Linked DNA regions of Homo sapiens: region 1 is linked to region 2. The links are contacts of gene promoters, found by promoter capture Hi-C in blood cells and fetal thymus (Javierre and others, 2016). All regions are on one chromosome and are shown on one strand. The core of a region is centred on a gene start or on the middle of the fragment in contact, and the rest is flanking DNA. Distances in the headings are between cores, read along the strand shown.

Region 1 (3,511 bases), core at 46-2,545, 130 kb before region 2:
ATTAAAAATCTAAATTAACTTTCCATAACTCCCAATATCCCATTACCCTGTTCCATTTTCTTTACTTATCGCTATGTGAACTTAGCTTCTTGATTGACTGTTCTGTTCACTTAACTTTGTGTCTGCTCACCCTGTGCTCTTTAAAGGAAAATACTGTATTTTGTCTTGTTTATTGCTGAGTCCCTAGCACCTGGTACATGTTAAGTGTTCAACAGATACCTGTTCAAATAAACTGATGAATGGCTCAGGTTTTTAAAATGAATACATGGAAAAAAAAAATGGCCTGATATCAGATTCTTTAGTAATTCTCATAAACTAAAAGATTCTGGTTCAGGCCGGGCGCGGTGGCTCACACCTGTAATCCCAGCACATTGGGAGGCTGAGGTGGGAGGATCACCTGAGGTCAGGAGTTTGAGACCAGCCCGCCCAACATGGTGAAACCCCGTTAAAAATACAAAAATTAGCTGGGCATGGTGGCGGGCACCTGTAATCCCAGCTCTTCAGGAGGCAGAGGCAGGAGAATCACTTGAACCCAGCAGGCGGGTTCAACTAGTGAGCTGAGATTGCACCACTGCACTCCAACCTGGCAACAGAGCAAGACTCCATATCAAATAAATAAATAATAAATATGAGATTCTGATTCAATAAACATGGGTGGGGTCTAAGAATCTTCATTTTAACAAATACCACAGAAAACTCTGGGGCAGGGGTTCACAGAACATGTTTTTTGAGAAGCACTGATTTATTCATTCTTGTAAGCTTTATGTAGGTAGGCAGCAGAGTTTTAAAGAGGTATGAGGATTTTCAGAATTGAGTCACTTTGCGAAGTTCATAACGAGTCAGTAAGTAAATTCTAAGAAGGCAGAAACAAATTCTAATTTTAAAAAACAGCCTATCCTCACATGTAAGTTACACAAACACACAAATTACCCTATCTATTGTATGCTGGTCATAAATTCTTGGCCTTCACCTCAGTCATCAAAACAAAGCCTAGACTTCTATAACTCCATTTCAAAGAATGAATTCCTCAGACCAAAACAAGAAATATTTGTTTAAAGGAATCGTCAGCAGAGAAAAATGTGATTCTTGAAAAAAAGGATTAAAGAAAATGAAATCTTAGCTTTAAAAGTACACTGTGTTGATGAGAGAAGTGAGCACAAGTTGCTCTGAAGGGGTAAATGTGGAAGGAAGATTTGCCTTCCACAGTGATCAAAATGGGCGGATGTTTGAAGAGTAATTCCAGATGCTCCCTGTTAACATGGCATTATTGCCCCACAGGCAACAGTGGAGTCCGGTGGTGGTGGTGGGATTGTGTGCATGAGGGGGTGATCAAATTGGACTCTGGTTTGACTAACAATAATATGCCAACTTTGACAAGTAGAGCCAGCTGTTGATTGGCATTTGGAATTTGACAGAGTGCTACTGTCCACTCAAATGATTTTTTTTTTTTTTTTAAAGATGGAGTCTCGCTCTGCCGCCCAGGCTGGAATGCAGTGGCGCAATTTCGGCTCACTGCAACCTCCGCCTCCCGGGTTCAAGCAATTCTCCTGCCTCAGCCTCCTGAGCAGCTGGGATTATAGGCACACACCACCATGCCTGGCTAATTTTTGTATTTTTAGTAGAGACGGGGTTTCACCATGTTGGCCAGGCTGGTCTTGAACTCCTGACCTCAAGTGATCCGCCCGCCTTCGCCTACGAAAGTGCTGGGATTACAGGCGTGAGGCACCGTGCCCGGCCTCAAATGATATTTTAAAACTCTACTTTGTTACAGAGAAAACCAATCAGCACTGTATTCGCTTTTTCATTTTATAAATTTCAGAAATCAAGCTTTTGATATGATCCTGGGTAACAGCCCACCTTTAAAGAGGTAGTACCTTGCCTAGCTCAGAGTAGCAATTAACACATATTTTATCTAAGATCTACCTTTATTAAAATCCTGATTAAACAGAAAACCACATACTGCATGTTCTCACTTGTAAGTGGGAGCTAAACACTGAGTACACATGGATACAAAGAAAGGAACCACAGACACTGGGGCCTGTTGAGGGTGGAGGGAGAGGATCGAAAAACTACCTATTGGGTACTAACTACGCTTATTACCTGGGTGACGAGGTAATCTATACACCAGTCCCCCATGAGACGCAAGTTACCTATATGACAAATCTCCGTAAGTACCCTTGAACCTAAAAGTTAAAAAACAATAATGAATAAATAATAAATAAAATCCTCATTAAACTCCAGAGCACTTACAAATGTCAAACTAATGTTGTCAATTTCTTGAGGTATTTTCTCCCTTCCTTTTACTTGCCAGTAACTCTTGCTTTTAGCTCACCTTTTAAAGATGAATACGGTCTAGAGCAGTCCTGTCCAGTAAAAATATAATGCAATCACAAATGCAAGCCATGAATGTGATTTTAAACTTTCTAGTAGCCGTATTAGAAAAATAAAAACAGGTGAAATTATTTTAAATTACCATTTTAACATGTAACCAGTATTTCAAAATGGAGACTTTTTTTTTTTTGAGACAGAGTCTTGCTGTGTCACCAGGCTGGAGTGCAGTGGCACAATCTCAGCTCACTATGACCTCTGCCCTCCGGGTTCAAGCGATTCTCCTGCCTCAGCCTCCCAAGTAGCTGGAATTACAGGTGCATGCCACCACACCCGGCTAATTTTTTGTATTTTCAGTAGAGACGGGGTTTCACCATATTAGCCAGGATAGTCTCGATCTCCTGACCTCATGATCCGCCCGCCTTGGCCTCCCAAAGTGCTGGGATTACAGGCGCGAGCCACCACGCCTGGCTGAGACATTTTTCATTCAAACTTTTAGATACTAAGTCTTTGATATCTGATATCCAGTGTGTATTTTATAGCACATCTCAATTTGGACTAGCCACATTTCGAGTATTTAATAGCTACATGTAGCTAGGAGCTACATATTGGACAGTAAAGGTCTAGAGCTTTGCTACTCAATGTGTAGTCCACAAATTAGAGGCACTTTCAAAATATTTCTGCTCATAGACAATATACCTGATCACCCAAAAACTTACAAGATGAATGTTGTTTTCATGCCTGCTACCATAACACCTATTCTGCAGCATATGGATCTGGAGTAATTTCAACTTTCAGGTCTTATTATTAAATACATTTCACAAAGCAATAGCTGCCATAGACAGTGACTTCTCTAATGGATCTGGACAAAGTAAATAAGTAAATTAAAAACCTCTTGGAGGCCAGGTGCAGTGGCTCACGCCTGTAATACTAGCACTTTGGGAGCTGAGGTGGGCAGATCTCTTGAACCCAGGAGACCAACCTGGGCAACATGGTGAGACCCTATCCCTACAAAAGATACAAAAATCAGCCAGGTGTGACAATGGCATGTGCCTGTAGTCCCAGCTACTTGGGAGGCTGAGGTGGGAGGACCACCTGAGCCTGGAAGGTCGAGGCTGCAGTGAGCTATGATCACACCACTGCACTCCAGCCTGGGCAACAGAGCAAGACCCTGTCTCAAAAA
Region 2 (3,446 bases), core at 647-3,146:
TTCATTTTCCCTACAGTGTGACCCCCTTTCTGTGGTCCAGTATGGTGCTAGAGCTGCAGCCAACACATCCCAAATCCAGGCAGCTGAATGGAGGATGGGATTAAGAAGAGGCAAAGACCATCATGCAGTAGCTCCCTTTTAAGGGGGTTTCTAGGAAGCTACCATGCAATACTTTGATTATATTTTATTGGCCTGAACTCAGTCAGCTGGCCATACCTAGCTGCAAAAGAGGCTGGGAAATATAACTATATGCCCAGTTAAAAAACTGGGAGTTCAATTATTATGAAAGAAGGGGAGAATAGATATTGAGGCAGACAACGAGTAGTCTCTACCACAAGAACCTTAGAACCTGAGGTGTCTTTATGAACACGCATTTGGACTGATTTTTTTTTTTTTTGGACAGGGTCTCACTCTATGGCCCAGTCTGGAGTGTGATGGCGCCATCACTGCTCACTTCAGCCTGAACCTCCCAGGTTCAAGCAATTCTCCTGCCTCAGTCTATGGAGTAGCTTGGACTACAGGTGTGCACCACTACACCCGGCTAATTTAAAAAAAAGTTTGTTGTTGTTGTTGTTGTTGTTTTTGTGGAGATGAGGTCTCACTATGTTGCCCAGGCTGGTCTCAAACTCCTGGCTTGTGATCCTCCTGCCTTGGCCTCCCAAAGTGCTGGGATTACAGGTGTGAGCCACTGTGCCTGGCCTGGACTAATTCTTTACAAGTTTTCTCCACCACCGGATAGATCTCTTCACGGCAGAGACTTGATCTATCAGTTGTATTCCCAGTTTGTCCTACAGTGCTTTAGACATGATTGATAGTAACATGATTTTGGAAGTGAATAGGATATAATCTTAAAGCATTCAGGAAGCCATTGTTAGCAAACGTTGCAGAGCAGTAGGTGTGATCTCAATTCCTCTCACCAGCCTATGCATTTCCTTAGTCAGTAAATCACTGAATCTATTTCTGTCTTGAGTATTGCATGTTGACTGTGGCATGTGATTGAGCATAAAAAGGCGTTAGCGATATGCATCCAGAGATCTCACTGAGGTCTAAAGCACTGAGAAGACTTCATTAGGTGAAACTTGGGTTGGTGAAACACCTTTTTTCTTACTGGCAGTATATTAATGATAACATTTGTATAGCATATTATTTACATCCTCACAACATCACCAGGATATTTTTATTTTCATCCTTATCTTACTGTTGAAGAAATGGAGGCTCAGAGAAGATAAAAATATTCAATTTAGCAAGTGGCAGATCTGGAAGTAGAAACCAGATTTTATGAAACCAAAGGCATCTCTAGAGAATTTTTTTTTTATTTCAGTAAAATTACTGCGTACCTATTGTGGAGAAGACCACCACATCCTTTGGTTTCACTTTTAGGTGACTTATAAAGTAATAGGGAGAAATGAGGGCAGATCATTTTGCTAGCTCTAACTGAAGAATTCCAGTCAATCAATACTGTGGCTGTTATCGGCTTTATAAAAGACTACTATTCCCAGCATGCCTCAAGGCACCTCCAGGAAGACCTTGACTCCCAGCATTCTGTACTTTGGAACTCCGAGTCCCAGAATGCAACATTCCTCCTACTTCCTCTCAGGGGGCCGTCGAGACTACAGTTCCCAGCATGCAGCGCCGCCACCTGCTTCTGGCGCCCCGCTGGACCCTGCTTCGAAGGGACCGTTTGGTCGCCAGAGGGCGGTTCCTGGAGTTACAGCCGCGTTTGCGGGACGTGTCTGCGCGGCAGTCCTGGCCTGTTGAGCTTGTCCAGACGAAGCCTCGCAGGGATGGGTTGGAGCCTGGGCCGGGCTTCGCTCAGGCAGCGTTTGAGGCAGACCCAGCAGGGTCCTCCTGGGGCCTTCCTGCCTTTGAACTGCGGTGGCGGGCGGGCGCACGGTCTCCTGTACGCCCTAGACTAGGGGCCGCCATCTCCATGGCCACGGCCGTGAGCCGGCCCTGCGCCGGCAGGTCGCGGGACATACTGTGGCGCGTGAGTGCGGCGTGCACTGTGGCACGCACTGCCAGGGTCGGGCCGGGCGGGCAAGCTCTGATCGCGCGTGCGCGCTGGGCGGGGGAGGGCCGGTCCCGGGGCAGCGTGGAGAGAACGCGTGGGGAAGGCACCACTTGGGGGACTGATTGCAGGGTTGTGGGAAGTCCTGAGTGGAAGTTGGTTACGGGGTAGGAGAGGGGTCCTGAGTGGAAGGAAGCTGGTCAGAGTGGGACGGATGGACTGAATGGAAATTGGAATAGGGAGTGAGGCGGAGTTTTACGCAAGGGTACCGTATCCAGTAGGTGCAAAATAAATAACTTAATTTGTTTCGTTAAGAAGTGGGAAGGAATGCACGGAATTGGAAAGAAATGTGGCATTAGTAGAGGCTGGGGTTAGGGTCCAGTAAGCAGGGCAGGTGTTCTTTGTAAGGTAGAATGGGACTGAGCTGAGTGGAATAGTACTTCCTCCTTAAAGTTACGGAATTAACAGTACTACATCGCTTCTCTGGAGTGCAAAGAGAAAGAGGAGAAAGATCCCTTTTGGAAAAGTGCTTCTATCCCAGTGCACTGCCATCTCCCCTGTATTCCAAACTAAAAACTTTTGGGTCCGTAAGTCTTATCTTTTTTTTTTTTTGAGCCGGAGGCTCGCTCCCTGTTGCCCAGGCTGCAGTGCAATGGCGCGTTGTCGGCTCACTGCAACCCCCGCCTCCAGGGTTCAAGGAGTTCTGCCTCAGCTTCCCGAGGAGCGGGGATTATAGATACGCACCACTACGCCCAGCTAATTTTTGTATTTTTAGTAGAGATGGGGTTTCACCATGTTGGTCAGGCCGGTCTTGAACTCCTGACCTCAAGTGAGTCATCCGCCTCGGTCTCCCAAAGTGCTGAGATTACAGGCGTGAGCCACCGTGCCTGGCCTCTAAAATTTTTTTAAAAATTATTTTTATAATAGAGATACGATATCTTCTCCAGCCTGGTCTTGAGCTCCTGGGCTCAACTAGTCCTCCTGCCTCAGCCGCCTAACTATTTGGGACATCAGGTGCATGCCATCGTGCCTGGTGTATGTTTAGCATGCATGAGTACTTCATTCCTTTTTGTGGCTGAATAATCCACTGTATGGACATACCACATATTTTGTTTATCCATTCATCAGTATGTGGGTATTTGGGTTGTTGCCACCTTTGGCACTTGTGAGCCACCGCACTTGGCTGACAGTGTCTTCTGAAGCAAAAAAGTTTTAAATATTGCTGATGTCCAATTTATCTATATTTTTCTTTTGTTGCTTATGCTTTTGGTGTCATATCTAAGAAACCATTGCCAAATCCAAGATCATGAAGGTTTACTCCTATGTTTTCTTCCAAGAGTTTTATAGTTTTAGCTCTTACATGTAGGTCTTTAATCCATTTTGAGTTAATTTTTGTATAGAATGTGGGATAGGAGGCTGGGCGCTGTGGCTCACGCCT

What was found. The method cuts DNA at HindIII sites, captures the fragments that hold promoters and counts their contacts. A CHiCAGO score of 5 or more calls a contact.
Region 1: a fragment that was not itself captured here is called in contact with the fragment with the promoter of NDC1 in region 2 in 3 of 17 cell types (megakaryocytes, naive CD4 T cells and activated CD4 T cells); the score reaches 5.7 in megakaryocytes.

The regions. Positions count from the first base shown.
Region 1 is chr1:53,969,465-53,972,975 of GRCh38, reverse strand. No RefSeq gene overlaps it. Among named protein-coding and RNA genes, the nearest start is that of LRRC42, 25 kb to the right of the region's middle. The HindIII fragment of the contact is 1,068 bases long and covers 762-1,829 here.
Region 2 is chr1:53,836,746-53,840,191 of GRCh38, reverse strand. NDC1 (NDC1 transmembrane nucleoporin) reads left to right here and starts at 1,896. Exons shown (of 18, transcript NM_018087.5): 1 at 1,896-1,987. The coding sequence starts at 1,931. RefSeq lists an enhancer at 1,423-1,902 and a silencer at 2,013-2,142. The HindIII fragment of the contact is 19,531 bases long and covers 1-3,446 here.